Linked DNA regions of Homo sapiens: regions 1, 2, 3, 5 and 6 are each linked to region 4. Evidence: promoter capture Hi-C in 16 types of primary human blood cells and fetal thymus (Javierre and others, 2016). All regions are on one chromosome and are shown on one strand. The core of a region is centred on a gene start or on the middle of the fragment in contact, and the rest is flanking DNA. Distances in the headings are between cores, read along the strand shown. Region 1 has its middle 5.1 kb from the start of MEI1. Region 2 overlaps LINC01315 (long intergenic non-protein coding RNA 1315). Region 3 overlaps XRCC6 (X-ray repair cross complementing 6). Region 4 holds the start of SEPTIN3 (septin 3). Region 5 has its middle 5.0 kb from the start of TCF20. Region 6 has its middle 28 kb from the start of NFAM1.

Region 1 (2,700 bases), core at 4-2,503, 280 kb before region 4:
TATCTGGCAAACTCAGAATAAAATTCTCGCTCCTAATCACGACTCTAAGGACCAGCATAATCTGTCCCATGTTTGTCTCCGATCTTATCTCCCAGTGCTCTCCTCATTACTGGTTCCATTCTGGCCACACAGTCTTCTTTGCTGTTCCTGTACATGTAATTTTGTTCCATCCTCAAGCCTTTGTACTTAATGTCTCTTCTGCCTACAACGCTCTTTCCTCAGATGTCACTTGGTTTGCCCCTTACTTCATTCAGGCTCCAGTCAAATGTCACTTCCTCCAAGAAGCCTTTCCTGACTATTCTGTCTGTGCGGATTATGCAAGTTATTATGTGTGCAAGGATTTTGCTTCTCTGTTCTCATCTACAGGTGCCACTGCAGAAGCGGGCAGTGCCCTCCATGAGGTGCGAAACTGTCTTCAAGCTGACTCCTGAATTCTTCAGTCCTGGAAAGTCCAGGGGCCTAGATTCTCAACAATGCGCACAAAGGCAGAGATGGGGATACCGGAGGAGCCTCCAGGAATCATGGGCCCAGAACCTGCTCTCTCCACAGCACCCATGTCCAGGCCCACCTTCGGGTGTCCACACCCACTCTGAGCCCATCTTTTGTACCACCTCCATTTCAAACACCTGTTTACTGCCTCAGAACAGTTCCTGGAAAGCATGGCAGGTGCCTTGGTGTCTCCATGATGGTCAGACTCGCCCTGCCTTGGACATGTGTCAAGAGATGGAGCAGCTGCTGCTTCACTCACAGGAAAGGTTGGTGTCACTGGAGCCTGTCATCAGTGTGAGGTCTCGCCCCACCTCCATGACCTTAACCACCTCTCTTCCAAACTTACTTTCAGCTGAGAGGCTGCAGTTCTGCCCCCAGAGAGCTCCTGCCTGATCCTTCCCACCAAACACTGAGAATGTGCACTTGGAAGTCTTGGCACTGTCGACCAGAGGCCTGGGAACCAGGGGGTAAAAACCAGAAAGCAGGCAGAGAGGATAGTAGAGAGACCCAGGCTCCAAGGTGGGTGAACCAGACAGGGAGCAGACGGGAGGATGCTTCAGAAATCCAGGCATCTGGGGAGTAGTTCCCAGTAGACTTTGGAATGGAGGGTGATGCAGAGACTAACGTGTTGGAGTGTGCAAACCAGAGACTAGTAATAAGTGAAACTGATGGCGAGATCTTGACACCAGGGTGGGACACCCAGGACCGGATGGGAGTTGAGAGTAGAACCAACATTCAGGAACTAGGGAATAGAAACCAGAGGGAGGCTGGAGGTGAGAATCTCCCTGAAACCCAGGCACATATGGGAGAGAACCAAGAACAGTTAAGATGTAAAATTGATGCAGAGACCCAAACACCTGAGTGGGAGAACCAGGATAAGAATGGAAGTGAGGATGCTGTGGAGACCCAGACATTTGAGAAGAAGGACAAGAAAGAGGCTGGAGAGGAGGATGGGGAAGAGATCCAGGCTCAAGGATTGGGGAAGCAAGGCCAGACTGGAGATGAGAATGGTGAGGAGACCCAGACACCACAGTGGGAGAAACAAGATCAGATGAAAGGTGATGCGGATGTGGAAATTCAGATGGAAGAGGGGAGAAACAAGGATCAGGTTGGAGGTCAGGATGCTGCACAAACCCAATCATGTGGGAGGGAGAACGTGGGAGAAGTAAAAAAAGAGAATAGTGTAGAGACCCAGGCCTTGGATTGGGGAAAACAGGAATGTGTTGGAAATGGGAATGTTACAGAGATCCAGACACCAAGGTGGGAGAAGCATGATCAAGGTGGAAGTAAGAAAGCTAAGAAGACCCAAGCATCTGGGGGAGAGAACCAGAAACAATTAAGTCATGAAATTCAAGTGGGGTGGGGAAATAAGGGCCTGAGAAGAGATGAAGATGCTAAGGAAACCCAGATAGCTACCAAGAAGAAGCTCAGGGAGATAAGAGAAGGATTGGGTGGTGATCCAGGCACTATGGTGGGGAAACCGGAGACAAGTAGCAAGTGAAATTTATAGAGAATTTGAGATACTATGTTGGGAGAATCAGAACTGGATTGGAGGTGAACATAGAGCAGAAATTCAGGCATCAGAGAAGAGAGACCAAAGAAAGGATGGATGTGAGGATGGCACAAATATCCTGGCACCCGAGGCTGAGATCCAGGAACAATTAAAAGGTGAAACTGATGTGGAGACTCAGAGCAATGAGCCACTTAGAGAAGAGGATGGTACAGACATTCAGTCACTAGGGAGGAGAGAGGTTAAAGGTGAGGATGATAAAGACACCCAGGAACTTGGGAGGAAAAATCAGGGTCAGTTAGGAAATGAATTTAGTGGAAAGATTCACATACCAAAGGGGAAGAATCAGGAACATATTAGAGGCGAAGATGGTGCACATACCCAGATATCTGAGTCAGGGAACTGGGGCAAATTAACAAGTCAAATTGATGGAGAAATGCATTCAGCAGAATGGAAGAAAGATCAGCAGATTGGAGGTGAGAATGGGGCAGAAATTCAGATACAAGGGAAGAGAAACCTGAGAGAAGTTGGAGGTGAGGACGGTGTAAAGACCTGGGCACCTGGGAAAGAAACCCAGAGTCAGTTTAGAAGTGATCTTGGTAGAAAGATCCTTTTATCAGAGTGGAAGAGCCAGAAGCAGATGGGAAGTGAGAATGGAACAGAAATTCAGGCTCCAGTGGAGAGAAACCAGAGAGAACCTG
Region 2 (2,756 bases), core at 14-2,513, 390 kb after region 4:
TCCTAGCCAGCAACCTGCCTCCTGGGCCCAGGACACACTCATGCGGCTAATGCTTGGTCAGTCCAGGCCTTCTGAGGCCGTTCATCCTCACAGCAGCCTCATGTGTGAGGCCGGTCCTATTATTATTATTGTTTGACAAGTGAGGACACCAAGGCACAGCGAATGTCACACAGATCAATGTCGTCTTGCAGATAGCAGGGGACAGAGCCAGGAGTCAAGCCCAGGCTGGGGATTCAACTCCAGAATCCACACTGGCCTCTCCCAGCTATGAGAATGGCCTCGGAGCCCTTTGAGGTGCCCTCAGAGCCTCGGATGCCCTCAGAGCTGGGCATTGTGTGACACATCCAGCACTACTGTTCTCCCAACAGGCAGGGTGGGGGCCATTGTGTCCACTTTCAGGGAAAGAAGCTGAAAGGTGGTGTGACTTGCTCAGGGCCCCGAAGTTTGCTTCTGGAGCAGCTGGGACCTCAGCCCAGGTCTGGGACGTCCCTGTGCTGGGTGCTTGGCAGGCACGACACATGCAATCTTGCACCCAAGCCTATTTCCGAGGTGAATACTGAGGCCCCCTCAGCCTGGAGTTATTTCTGAGGTCCTTGCTGTCTTTTGAGGAGGAAGAAAATGGATTCCCCCTCCCAGGCCCCTAGGCTTCATGTCCCAGGTCCCTTTACTTTTTCTTCTTCTTCTTCTTCTTTTTTTTTTTTTTTTTGAGATGGAGTCTTGCTCTGTCACCCAGGCTGGAGTGCAGTGGCGCGATCTCGGCTCACTGGAACCTCTGCCTCCCGTGTTCAAGCAGTTCTCCTATCTCAGCCTCCCAAGTAGCTGGGGTTACAGGCGTGCACCACCACTCCTGGCTAATTTTTTGTATTTTTAGTAGAGATGGGGTTTCGCCATGTTGGCCAGGCTGGTCTTGAACTCCTGACCTCAGGTGATCTGCCCTCTTGGCCTCCCAAATTGCTGGGACTATAGGCATGAGCCACCGCGCCCAGCCCCAGGTCCCTTTACTTCTGTTCCTCTCTTGACTCTCTCCTTTCAAAGAGGCTTCTCATTCCAAGAAGCGCCTGGCCCACTGGTCTTGGTCCCGCCCTGCTGACAGCCAGTTATCCCCTGAGCCCAGCCAGGAGACTGAAAAGCTTTACTGCATTCTCTTAAGGGCTTCACAGCCAGGAAAACCAGCAAAGGGGAATATAGTGTCTGCAGACCGGTGAGGTCCAGGGTCGCTCCATAAAAATGGATTCCTGGAAAAACATAAACCAGCAATTTACCCTGTGAATTTTATTGGCCTAAAAAAAAAAAAAAGGCTATCTCATTTGAATAATGAAGAGAGATAAACCATTCCTAGCTCCTCTTTTATTAGTGAATAAGGACACAAACACTCAACAGAAATGGAACACTCACACAAAGCTTCAGGTCTGATTTATTAGCCACTTTAGTTTCATAAAACTCAGCATTTCTATTAAAATAAAATGATGTCCAAAAGGTTTGCTTGTTTTTAAGAAAATTGCATTTAATACAGGGCAAGACTTTGTTATGGTTTATTTATTTATTTATTTATTTTTTAAACAAAGCTCAAATTCTCCTGACTTCACGCCTGTTACTACAGCTGGAGGGAAACCGATTTCAGAATCTATCTGATATGTCGGATTTCTTTGTGGCATCCACTTCATCGCTCAGCAGCCAGCCATGATGTCATAAGCCCATCAGATTTCCGGTAGGGGGAAAACGCTGGGGAATTGGAAAGAATGGATGTTTCTTACCCGTCAGGAAGGCAGGGGAAGGAGCTGGGTATGTTTGGGAGGAGAAGCCGCGTGGCTGGTGGGGGACAGGAGCAGGCTCAATGTTTGTGATATTAAATGTCAGGCAGAAACCTGAAAACCCCAGCTACCCAGATGTTTTCTCAATATCCAGATGTCTGGCACTGAGCAGACCATGCTCCCGCCTCCCAGGAGGTGCTCAGCATTTGGGCTTTGACCTCAGGTCTCCGGGTGAGCGCACACTGCCAGGAGCTGTACATCCTCGCGGCTGCCCACCCTTGGGTTTGGGATTTTTTTTCTAAATCTTTACACATAGATGACAGGAGTAACTAGGTCCAGATTTTTAAAAGCTGTTGAAGCAGTGATTTGAGAAGTTCAGTCTCTGGAACGCTATGTAAGCCAAAAAGGAGGAAAAAAAAAAAAAAACCCTCAGCCAACACACACACAAACATATGTGACTCTTAAGCCATAGGACTTAAGAACCCAAAACAAAACCAGCAAGTCTGAGAACCAGGGCTGGAGACCGACACTGAGAAGCGCTGAGCCCTCCCCCAGGAGCACGCTTTCCCCCAAATCAGAAAAACACCGCACAGCTTTGTTCTTCCTGACAAAGCCCCTTGCTTCCAGGGAGCCGACAGTTGCCAACAAAAGCACAGGGTGGAACTCATTTACACGCAGGCTGGGCTTCAAGGAGCCATCAAGTGCAGAAATGGAAATGGCTTTGCCTAGGAGCCCTGCCTCCCTGCGACTGGTAATGGGGACCCCTGGAGCCTGGGGGAGCCCCGCAGGTCACAGATGGAGCAGGGTCCTGGCCTCCTGGTGCCTGGCTAAGCATCTGCCCCACGGAAGTCACCACCTAGGCTTGTGACATCACAGCTAATTGCCCCTGACAATGAGCCAGGAACTGCAGGCCCCTCAGGGCTGCAAGCCTGAGACTTCACAGGGAGCCGGGAGGAGAGGCAGCTGGGGAGGGGCCATCGCCAATTAAAACCCAGTGCTCAGATA
Region 3 (2,755 bases), core at 15-2,514, 310 kb before region 4:
AGAGAGTTCTGGAAGTGGACAGCAAGCTGGGGCTCGTGACTCACCAGGCCACTCTTCTGTGTTTTGATTTTCTAGTGCCCAAGGTTGAAGCAATGAATAAAAGACTGGGCTCCTTGGTGGATGAGTTTAAGGAGCTTGTTTACCCACCAGATTACAATCCTGAAGGGAAAGTTACCAAGAGAAAACACGGTGAGAAGCTGAATGTGGACATGTGGGCTATTTTTAAAAATTGCTTTTATGATAGTCTTATCACAGTGGGCAATATCCTTTCAGAAATATCTATTCACAGTCTAGTTAAAATGGCTTTTATCCAAAAAACAGACAATAACAAATGCTGGCAAAGATGTGGAGAAAAGGGAACCCTCATACACTGTTGGTGGGAATGTAAATTAGTACAGCCACTATTATGGAGAATAGTTGGGAGTTTCCTCAAAAAGTGAAAACTAGAGCTACCATATGATCCAGCATACCATATGATCCAGTCAGTATATACCCAAAAGAAAGGAGATCAATATATCAAAGAGATATGTGCACTCCCATGTTTATTGCAGCACCATTCACAATAGCCAAGATCTGGAAGCAACTTGTGTCCATCAACAGATGCCTGGTAAAGAAAATGTGGTACACGTACACAATGGAGTACTATTCGGCCATAAAAAAGAATGAGATCCTGTCATTTGCAATAATATGTTAAGTGAAGTAAGCCAGGCTCAGAAAGACAGACATTTACATGTTCTCACTTATTTGTGGAATCTAAAAATCAAAACAATTGAACTCATGGAGAGAGAGCATAGAAGGATGGTTACCAGAGGCTGAGAAGGGTAGTGAGGCATTGTGGGGTTGGTGGGGATGGTTAATGGGTACAAAAAAAAAATAGAATGATTAAGATCTATTCGATAATACAACAGAGTGACTATAGTCTAATTTAATTGTACATTTAAAAATAACTAAAGGAATACAATTGGAATGTTTGTAACACAAAAGATAAATGCTTGAGGGGATGGATACCCCATTTATGCTGATGTGATTATTTCACATTGCATGCCTGTATCAAAATACCTCAGGTACCCCACAAATATATATACCTAGTATGTACCCACAAAAATTAAAAATGAAAAAATTTTAGAAAAGAACTGTCTATACAACCATACATATTTACACATACCAACATACATATTTCAGCACAAATGGAATAATACATTGTTTTCTAGTTTGCTATTTTTGTTACTCAGCTATATATGTTGGACAGTTATTTATATCCACACTTACCTATCTCATTTTTTAAAAAATGAGGCTGCAGAGTAGTTCATTGGATAGATATACCAGGTTATTTAACCAGACCTGTATTGACAGGTGGATATGCTGCAGTGAACATGCATTTCCATCGTGTTCTTGTGTGAATAGATCCACAGGATGCATTCTTGCAGTGAATTGCTTCCAAAACAGTGATTTACCCTCTATCCAAGAAGGAGTGAATGTTTTCCTGCACTCTCACCCTTCCAGGACTTAATTTTTTTAATTTCTATTTAAAATGATACAGAAGTTGGCCAGGTGCGGTGGCTCACACCTGTAATCCCAGCACTTTGGGAGCCTGAGGTGGGCGGATCATGAGGTCAGGAGTTCAAGACCAGCCTGGCCAACACAGTGAAACCTCGTCTGTACTAAAAATACAAAAATTAGCCAGATGTGGTAGTGGGCGCCTGTAGTCCCAACTACCTGGGAGACTGAGGTAGGAGAATCCCTTGAACCCGGGAGGCAGAGGTTGCAGTGAGCCGAGACCACACCATTGCACTCCAGCCTCGGTGATAGAGTGAGACTCCATCTCAAAAATGATACAGAAGTTATATCCTTTTTTTGTTTTTAGACAGTCTTGCTCTGTCACCCAGGCTGGAGTCCAGTGGCTCAATCACAGTTCACTGGCTCACTGTAGCCTCAACCTCCTGGGCTCGAGTGATCCTGCAGCCTCAGCCTGCTGAGTAGCTGAGACTGCAGGTGCACACCACCATGGCCGGTTGATTTTATTACTTTAGAGCCAGGGTCTCACTGTATTACCAAGGCTGGTCATGAACCTGTAAAAGATTTTCAAAGGAAGGAAGGAATGACTTACCCAGAGTGAGCAACAGTTTTGGGTAAACTGATGGCATTCACACTACTTGTAATTTCCTCCTAGGTGTGATCTGTGTTTTATTTTGCACTTTAAATGAAGCTACCTTATCGAGATAAGTCTTCCCCATGGTGTCCTAGGCTGGCATCACAGCTTTATGGTTAATTGCAGCCCAGATTATACGAGGTCCCCCATGCCATGTAGCTGGGATGCCACTTGTATGTAGCATTTCCAGTCACTCTCTCCTGACCTTTCCCCCCAGATAATGAAGGTTCTGGAAGCAAAAGGCCCAAGGTGGAGTATTCAGAAGAGGAGCTGAAGACCCACATCAGCAAGGGTACGCTGGGCAAGTTCACTGTGCCCATGCTGAAAGAGGCCTGCCGGGCTTACGGGCTGAAGAGTGGGCTGAAGAAGCAGGAGCTGCTGGAAGCCCTCACCAAGCACTTCCAGGACTGACCAGAGGCCGCGCGTCCAGCTGCCCTTCCGCAGTGTGGCCAGGCTGCCTGGCCTTGTCCTCAGCCAGTTAAAATGTGTTTCTCCTGAGCTAGGAAGAGTCTACCCGACATAAGTCGAGGGACTTTATGTTTTTGAGGCTTTCTGTTGCCATGGTGATGGTGTAGCCCTCCCACTTTGCTGTTCCTTACTTTACTG
Region 4 (2,857 bases), core at 182-2,681:
TTCATAACTGAGCTTTCCACCCAGGCATGGTGGCTCACGACCGTAATCCCAGCACTTTGGGAGGTGGAGGTAGGAGTATTGCTTGAGCTCAGAAGTTCGAGACCAGCCTGAGCTACATAGGGAGACCCCCGTCTCTACAAAAAATAAAAACTTAGCTGGGCGTGGTGGTGCATGCCTGTGGTCCCAGCTACTCTGGAGGCAGAAGTGGGAGGATCACTTGTGCCCAAGAGGCTGCAGTGAGCCATGATGGCGCCACTGTCTTCCAGCCTGGGCGACAGAGTGAAACCCTGTTCAAAAAAACTAATAACAACAACAGCAACAACAAACGAAACAGAGCTGAGCTAATATGGTAGCCACAGATTAAAATAAACTAAAAAATCCAGTTCCTTGGTCACTGTAGACACATTTTAAGTGATCGGTAGCCATCTGTGGCTAGTGGCTACTGTACTGGACAGCACAGACATAGAACATTTCCATTATCACTGAAAGTTGTATTGCCCAGCGCAGCTCCAGAAGCTCACTCGCTAAAGAGAGAGACACACAGGAGAGCAGACCAGACAACACAGTGTTGTGTGGGCTGCAATGTCCTCCTCGGTAAAAAGCAGGTGATGAGGCGGAGATTAAAGGAGATGCCAGGAGAATGCTTAGCCTAGTTCCTGACTCAGGGTGAGTGCTCGGAGGACATCTGCCATCACCGTACAGGACAGTACTATAGGATCTGTTTACATACCTATCTTCCTAGCAGACTGTGAGCTCCGCCCAGCCCTGGCATGGTGCCGGGCACAGAGCAAGTGCTCAGGAAATAGTAGCTGTTATCAGCACCATTGTTATTATCACCACTGCTATGACAGAGGCAGCCGAGGGCTGTGGGAACACAGAAGAGGGCTCCCATCCCAGCCCCAGGGCCAGGGGCTGCTGAGAGTCGGCATTGCCAGAGCCAGGCTGGGTGGCTTTGTGGTCCCCTCAGGGGCAGGCCTAGGGCGGGGTCCTCTTCACACCCTTAGGGTCTGGGTACAGGGTCCAGCTGGAGCAAGCTGGGGCTCAGGGAATAGTTGTGGAAGGAGCTCTAGCCTCCAGGAACTCCAGCCCCCTTGAGGAAAGACCAGGTGAGTGGGCAAGATGGTCTGAGGGTTGCAGAGCTGAACAGGGCATGAAGGGCACAGAGGCAGAGCCAGAGGGAGACTCGCGCTGGGACTACCAGAGTGCAGCCATATTTGGAGTACCCCTGTTTTTACTGCAGACTCCCCAGGCATCAAAGTCTGTGGGAGACAGAGCAGATTTGGGGAGGGCAGGCTGCAGGGAACCTCCCTGCAGGTGGCCGTGAGTGCCAGCCTGGCCGTTACCAGCCTCCCATGGCTCTTCAGGATTCCAGAGGCTCAGAGCAGCCATTCACAGCCGCCCACTCCTAGGAAGCCAGCCCCTCCCTGCACCAGAGCCCAGCCCAGCACGGTCTCCGGGGATGTAGCTGGTGGGACAGTGAGCAGAGGGCTGGGCCCTGTGCCTGGGGACTGTGGCCTGGAGGCTGAGCAGGAGCTGAGGAGGGGACCAGAGGGACAAGGCCCCTAAGCTGGCCACCATGGCCAGACTCTGAGTGCAGGGGAGGTGAGGGGCCTGCGTGTGCCTTATCTTCCCAGACACACTGGATCCTTCTTGTCCTCTGATCAAGGTAGGTGTGTAGGGGGGTGGAAGGGTGTGGGGGTTTGTGGGGGTGGGAGGGTGGTGGGGGTGGGGTGGGGAAGGACCAAGCAATCCATGGAAGATGGGAGTGCAGTGAGGGGATGGGGAGTCGGGTGATGCCCTCGGACACCCTGTCCTCTGGCCTGCTCTGTGTGTGGGTGTGCACACTGAGGGGAGCTGTTTGTGGCTAAGTGCAGGGTAAACGTGTGTGCCCAAGTGGATGTGGCTGTGCAGGAGGGGGCAGAAGTTCAGGGCTGCAGTGATAGGCCAGGTGGGAAAGGGTTGGAGGCCAGGACAGTCTTGGATACAAATATATGGCTGGAGAGGGATGAGGGGCTGGGGGCACCATTGTGAGGGGTGATGCCTTCCCTGTCCGGTGCCCTGCCTTCCCCGTCCCTGCTGCAGACCTCAAGGACCTGGCTACATGATCACTCCCCTCCCCATGAGCCCTCTGGAACTGACTCCTCCCACCAGCCCTGGCCTTGTCCCCCAGCTGCAGGTCCCAGCCTGCTGTGTTAAAAGCAACCAAACCAACTTTTTTCTAGAGGGTGAGTTACTTGGAGTCCAGAGTAGCAGGGAGTGGCCCATCTACTAAGACCACAGCCAGAGTCCTGAGCTTCATCCTCGACACCTCTTTGTGCCCACTCCCTACCCTGGGCAGTCCCGCCACTTCTACCCCTGTGCAATGCAGCCTCCTCCAGCCCCAGCCCTAGCTCTGCCCCTTGCACAGCCCACGGAGCAGAGAGTTTCAACTATGTCCTCATGGGATCCTGGCTTCAATTCTGTTCCCATCTGATCCCTCTGTCACACTGCCCGAGTGGCCGTTCCCACCTACAGATCGGAATGGGTCACATTCCCTGGCCTAAACTTTGCTGTAGCCTGGCCTGGACCCCAGCTCACCTGCAGCCTTGGCTCTCCCCTCCCTGCTACATACAGCCTAGGAGCCCCATGTTGGATTTTCAGAAAGATGCCACACTTTCTCACCTTTGGGCCTTCTGTAGGAACAGCCCCAGCTCAGGTCTAGCCTCCCGCCTTTCTACCCCTAATGCTTAGCTTGGTGGAGCCCTGCCTACTTCCTTGCCTGGCATCCCTGGGCATGGCAGCCTCTTCAAGGGCGGGGACCATGGCTTGTTCACCAGATAAGCTCCTTCTGTGAACACTCACTGCCTCTCCATTTCCC
Region 5 (2,700 bases), core at 84-2,583, 310 kb after region 4:
GAGAGCCTCTGTGGGCACGCCCTCATTCTGTGCCCTCATTCCACAGGAGCCCCTGCTTTGTGCAAGTCTCTGAGCCCGCATGGAGGGAGCATGGGGGCTCAGAACAGTTCTTTCTGGGGCAAGGTCAGGGGAGGCTCTAAAGTTATGGTGGTGGGGAGGGCCTTAAAACAGAGGACCAGAGAATACCAAGACTTAGGGGTGTGGGGGAGAGCCACCTGCTGTGCCCAGGAGGACTGTGCCCAGTGCAGGGGAAAAAGATGAAGCTGCGGAGTTGGGCAAGGGTGGGATCCTGCAGGGCCTTAGAGCATTGACATGTTTGGCATGGATTTGTTTCACAGGGTCCCACAGAAACTTCTGCTCTCCAGGTTTGCCCCTCCACTCTGCCCTCCAGGATAGAAGTGTGGCATCCTAATCTGGGATGCATCCATCTCTCCCCCTGGACTGTGAGCATATGCAGGGCAGAGACACCTCTGCTTCTCTTGGGTCTCCGGCATCCTGTGCAGGGTAGGGCACCATGTCCATTAAAATGATGTTAATGAGGATGATACAGCCCAGAGGAATCCAGGCTTACTATGAACCAGGCACTATGCAGATTTCCCTTTATCATCCCAGTTCTTCTTATTTGCAGCAGTCTAATGAGTTTGGTACTGTTATCACCCCTATTTTACAGATGGGGCCACTGAGGTGCAAAGAGTTTAACTTATCCCAAGTCACACAGTTTGGAAGAGGCTGAGCTGGTATTTGAACCCAGGTTTTCAGAGGCTGCACTCTTAACCACCAAGCTTCCCAGCACTCAGCAAACACTGGAAAGACAGAGATGGACCTAGACAGTCAGTAGGACCAAAAGTCTGCAGGCCGATAGGGAAAGAATGTAAGAGGACGGCATGGGCAGCGCCAGCCCCTCCAGCAGTCATATATTAAGCCCTGGACACTGGGCAGCTCGGGCAGGTCGGGGGGCCTCAGACTCTCGGACCCCATGCCTGGAAGACCACGGTCTGCCCAACAAGCAGCAGCTGCTGTGAATCGACTTACACATCTTCCCCACAGGTGAGCAGAGAGCTAACACCTGAGGATAGGCCAAGAAACGGGAAGCCCGTGCAACCTGAGCGCACAGATCACCCCCACCTGCCCGGCACTCACTGTCCCCAGTGGCTGGACTCTCATCGGGCCAGTCACTGAGCTGGCGCCAGCCTGGTCTCACCAGTGTGTGTCTTTAAATCATCCAATTTCTTCAGCTGTAAATTGGGCTGGGAGGGGCCAGGTGAGCTGCCTGCCTCAGGGGAGTCGGCGCCCTTACCTGAGTGATCCCATTCACTCCTCACAACAAACCCATGAGGCAGGGATTGTCATCTTCATTGTACAGAGCAGGAAATGGGTGCACACAGAGGTTAAGAGACTTGCCCAGGTCACACAGCTAGGAAGAGGCTGTGATTTGAACTCAGTCTTCTGGCTCCAAAGCCCCCACAGAGTCACTCAGGGCACTACAAAGAGTTAACCTGAATATGAAATGATCTAAGAGTCGCAGTGACAAAGGCATGCTCTAAGCGCTTTTCCTGCAGTAACTTGCTTAATCCTTACAACAACCCTATAAAGTGGGTACTGTTCTCGCCTCATTTTGCAGATGAGGAAACTGAGGCACAGAGCAGCTCGGAGGGGGCAGAGCTGAATCTGACAGGCTACAGGGCCCCTGCGTTGCTTTGTTATAAGATGACAATAAGGAAGTTCCTTTCCTTTGGGATTATTTCTGCCTGAAAGCTCAAGACTTTTAGCCACATCATTGTCTGGGCTCCACGGGAAGGCAGTGCCACATGCTGAGGCATGCTGGGAAAAGACTTTGTTCCATCCTGTTTTGTTGACATGCTCTTCATTTTTAAGCCTGAAACCGAAGCTTCCTGCTAAGAATTCAAACCATGGAGAAAAACGCAGCCATGATAACGGCCACTACTTCCTGAGCCTCCAGTGTTCCCTGTGCTTGGGGATCCATATATGTCACTTAACCTTAACCTTCACAACACCAGGGCAGCCTCCATTTTCACAAGTGAAGAAATGGAGGCCCAGAGTCACTTAGAAGATGCTCGAAGGTGCACAGCTGCTAAGTGGTGGTGCTGGGATTTGTCCTCAGGTCCTCAAGAGTCCTGACTCTTATGTGCTGGCTCCCCACGGAGGCGTGGAGTCTTGTTTGCTGGGCATTTGACAGAAATGTTTCTGCTCATCTTCTGCCACAGGTTGGTCCTTCAGCGTCAAGATTCCTGGGCCACTTATTAATAGAAGGCACCAGGACACAGGTGCAGGGATGCAGAGCTGGATGCTGCCTTCTCAATAGGAGAAGCCAAGAAACGCAGATGCCGATGCTTAATCAACTCCGTCTCTCCCTCTAGTGACTCGGGGATAGCTGCCCTGATGCCAAGGCGATTGTCTTCTGGAAGCAGCCACGCCGTGTGAGGTTCCTCATCACTGCCCTGCATCTCCCTGCGAGCTCTCGGGGATAATTGCAAAATCACGTTTGATTCCAGGGGAGCAGAAAGCAGCAGGAGCCGTGAATTCTCCAACTCTTAACTGGTCCTCGACTGGAGCCACTTTTCCCTGCCCACCCATCCCTGTGGCGGATTCATTACAGTTATCCAAAGCCGGTTTTAACTTTGCTCCCCCTGGCTCAGAAGTCTGTCAGTGGGTCCTGAGCGGCTTCACCATTCAAGTTTA
Region 6 (2,734 bases), core at 11-2,510, 490 kb after region 4:
TTGTATTTTTAGTAGAGACAGAGGTTCGCCATGTTGGCCAGGCTGGTCTCGAACTCCTGACCTCAGGTGATCCACCTGCCTTGGCCTCCCAAAGTGCTGGGATGACAGGTTGGAGCCTCTGCGCCCAGCCCAATTCTTGAGTATTAAATGCTTAACTGCCTTGTTATACCTCCTGTACTAAGAACACTAAAAATGTAGAGCATTTTAGACAAGAAACCTAATTAAAAAAAAAAAAAAAAAACCCAGTTCAAAAGCATTTGGGAGTGATTCAGAAAACCACAGCCCCGGAGCTATAGTCTCTGAAGATGCGGGGCCTGGACCTCTCTGCATTCCCCCATTGGTGTCTGCTGAAGACTAGCGTCTGCAGAAATCCCAGTCTGTACACAGGCTGAGACTATTCCTTTTCCCTACATCCTGGTGATGGGCACACACACACCTCAAGGGAGGCGTCGATGCTCTCAGGCACTGAACTTGTTCCCGTGTCTTTATGTTTCATGATCGTATATGAGAGAGGGAGCGTGGCCTGGAACTGTACACAAAATGTGACCGAAAACAGCCTCTCGCTGTTTCCAATTAAACAACCTGCTCGAGCCTTTGGTTTCTCTCCATCACTTCCTGTCTCAATCTCACTGACGTCTTCTTTTTTAGCAAAATGCATTTGTATTTCAAGCAGAAGATCAATGGTTACATTTTAAAACGCTAAATATCTTTTCTGCCAGGCCGAATGGGGGTGTTTCTCCCATCCTTCTCTGCACGTCTTCTCATCTTAAAGCGATGGAATTGAGTTCTGTGAAATCCGATCTGGTGTTTAAGCTCTGATTTATAACAAATTACCTATGTGGCACTCAAGAAAGAACTTGTATGTCAGATAACACTGGAGTTTGATTTCACCACCCTGCCCCCAAACCCGTTTATTCATTCATGGCGGGGAGAGATCCAGAGGGCCGGAGCAATTTCATCAACCCTGGAATTCGCGCATGGAGCCTCCTCTCCCCAGACCATCCTGCTACCATGAATAGACAGCACGTGGCCGCCTTTTATGATAAGGTCAGAGGAAAGGAGTGCATAGAGAGAGGCCGTTTGGAGAGTCGGAGCTGTAAGTTTCAGGTATAAAACCTGAATAGTACCAGTCCTCTTGCCTGGGGCCAGATCAGACAGGAGGGAGGAGGTGGAAGGCAACTGTTCCACCTCCCGAGGTGATTCCTTTGGACGCCTGAATCCTTTGGATTCCCTGGCTCCCAGCAGCGGACTCTGCCCTCAGCCATCTTTATCACTCCTGATTAGGGCTGCAGACGCCTCCCTCCCCACCCTGCCTTGCCAGGCTTTGTGGCTCCCCGGGCTCGTTTTCTGATAGAGCTGTCAGTTTTTACTACTGATAGGAGAAATCATTTTCTTTCTTAGCTGAATGTTAATTGGCTCCCCTCCCCCATTCACTTAGTATATCCCGTCCCCTATTTTTTTTTTTTACCCCAAGGAAAAGGTACCTTAGTAGAGACACATTTCGGAAAGACAAAGAAGGTGTTTCTTGCTAAATTGCTAATTGGTAACTGAAATCAGAGGTTAAGAAAAAGCTAAAGAGGAGAGCGAGGAAGGAATTAGGACCACATGTTTCTGTAGCTTGAGGTGAGCTGGCGCCGCCTAAATGCTCCTCGGATGCAGCACCTGCTTTCTGTAGCGGGCTCAATATTCAATAAGGAGACCCACGAGATCAGCTGGGGCCAGTTGAGCAAACATTGACATCTTGGAGGTACCAGGCACCAAGACAGGTCCTAGAGATGCGGAGGTGACTAAGACCCTTTGACAGTCCTATGGGACAAAGTGTCAGTTTGATGTGATGGGAGCAGTGGCAAAGGTAAACCAGGATACTGCGAGACTCACCGAGGGTCACAGAAACTTCCTGGAGAAAGCGAAGTTAGAGCTAGGCTTTGTACGATAACTAGGAGTTGGCTGGGAGATGGTGGCGGCAGTAACATCCCAGGTAGAAGAGACAGCTTGTGGAAGGTCATGGGCGCCGTGGAGCATGGTGGTGCCTGAGAGGAGCAGTAAGAAGTTTGCTATGGCTAGAGATTAAGGTCACGTGGAGGACCAGCTCCAGCAGGGCTTGGGTGCCTTGCAGGTTTTCTCCCTATAATTCTCATACACTTAAACAGCAAACAAACAGACCAAGCGTGGTGGCTCACCCCTGTAATCCCAGCAGTTTGGGAGGCCGAGGTGGAAAGATCACCTGAGATCAGGAGTTCGAGACCAGGCTGGCCATGATGAAACCTCAGCTCTACTAAAAATACAAACATTAGCTGGGTGTGGTGGCGCACACCTGTAATCCCAGCTACTTGGGAGGCCAAAGCACAAGAACTGCTTGAACCCGGGAGGCGGAGGTTGCAGTGAGCAGAGATTGCGCCACTGCACTCCAGCCTGGTTGACAGAGTGAGACTCCGTCTCAAAACCAACAAACAGCTTTATTGAGGTTGAATTTACATACTGTAAAATGCACCTGCTTAAAGTATGCAAGTCAATGGGTTTTAGTATATTGACAGAGTTGTGTCACCATAACTAACTTTAGGACATCCCACAGAAAAGCCCTTCTGAGGAGGGTTTTTGACAGGGTCATGGCCTGCCCAAATTATGTCTCTCATCGGTTTGGCAGCAGAGCAGAGACGGGCTTGGAAGGGACAAGTGTGGGCCCTCATCGAGCCAAGAACATGAGCAATGGCACAGCAGTGATTGTGCACAAGGG

Evidence for each region. Contacts are between HindIII fragments. The CHiCAGO score rates a contact against its expected background, and 5 or more counts as called.
Region 1: a contact is called between a fragment that was not itself captured here and the fragment with the promoter of SEPTIN3 in region 4, in 3 of 17 cell types (total CD8 T cells, naive B cells and naive CD8 T cells). The highest score is 6.0, in total CD8 T cells.
Region 2: a contact is called between a fragment that was not itself captured here and the fragment with the promoter of SEPTIN3 in region 4, in 1 of 17 cell types (M2 macrophages). The highest score is 5.6, in M2 macrophages.
Region 3: a contact is called between a fragment that was not itself captured here and the fragment with the promoter of SEPTIN3 in region 4, in 1 of 17 cell types (naive B cells). The highest score is 5.5, in naive B cells.
Region 5: a fragment that was not itself captured here is called in contact with the fragment with the promoter of SEPTIN3 in region 4 in 1 of 17 cell types (M1 macrophages); the score reaches 5.4 in M1 macrophages.
Region 6: a contact is called between a fragment that was not itself captured here and the fragment with the promoter of SEPTIN3 in region 4, in 14 of 17 cell types (M0 macrophages, total CD4 T cells, endothelial precursors and 11 more). The highest score is 10.4, in M0 macrophages.

The regions. Positions count from the first base shown.
Region 1 is chr22:41,693,097-41,695,796 of GRCh38, forward strand. It overlaps the pseudogene C22orf46P. Among named protein-coding and RNA genes, the nearest start is that of MEI1, 5.1 kb to the right of the region's middle. The HindIII fragment of the contact is 7,463 bases long and covers 1-2,700 here.
Region 2 is chr22:42,363,004-42,365,759 of GRCh38, forward strand. It overlaps LINC01315 (long intergenic non-protein coding RNA 1315), which reads right to left. Exons shown (of 2, transcript NR_120597.1): 2 at 1,397-1,722. Among named protein-coding and RNA genes, the nearest start is that of LINC01315, 4.8 kb to the right of the region's middle. RefSeq lists enhancers at 134-787, 2,298-2,756. The HindIII fragment of the contact is 271 bases long and covers 1,129-1,399 here.
Region 3 is chr22:41,661,256-41,664,010 of GRCh38, forward strand. It overlaps XRCC6 (X-ray repair cross complementing 6), which reads left to right. Exons shown (of 13, transcript NM_001469.5): 12 at 76-189; 13 at 2,367-2,755. The coding sequence ends at 2,560. Among named protein-coding and RNA genes, the nearest start is that of SNU13, 26 kb to the right of the region's middle. The HindIII fragment of the contact is 4,603 bases long and covers 1-2,755 here.
Region 4 is chr22:41,968,012-41,970,868 of GRCh38, forward strand. It overlaps SEPTIN3 (septin 3), which reads left to right and starts at 1,432. Exons shown (of 12, transcript NM_001363845.2): 1 at 1,432-1,666. The HindIII fragment of the contact is 14,934 bases long and covers 1-2,857 here.
Region 5 is chr22:42,274,318-42,277,017 of GRCh38, forward strand. It overlaps a transcript of TCF20 not described here and the pseudogene OGFRP1. Among named protein-coding and RNA genes, the nearest start is that of TCF20, 5.0 kb to the left of the region's middle. RefSeq lists enhancers at 549-1,345, 1,346-2,142. The HindIII fragment of the contact is 1,106 bases long and covers 781-1,886 here.
Region 6 is chr22:42,458,614-42,461,347 of GRCh38, forward strand. No RefSeq gene overlaps it. Among named protein-coding and RNA genes, the nearest start is that of NFAM1, 28 kb to the left of the region's middle. The HindIII fragment of the contact is 4,963 bases long and covers 1-2,734 here.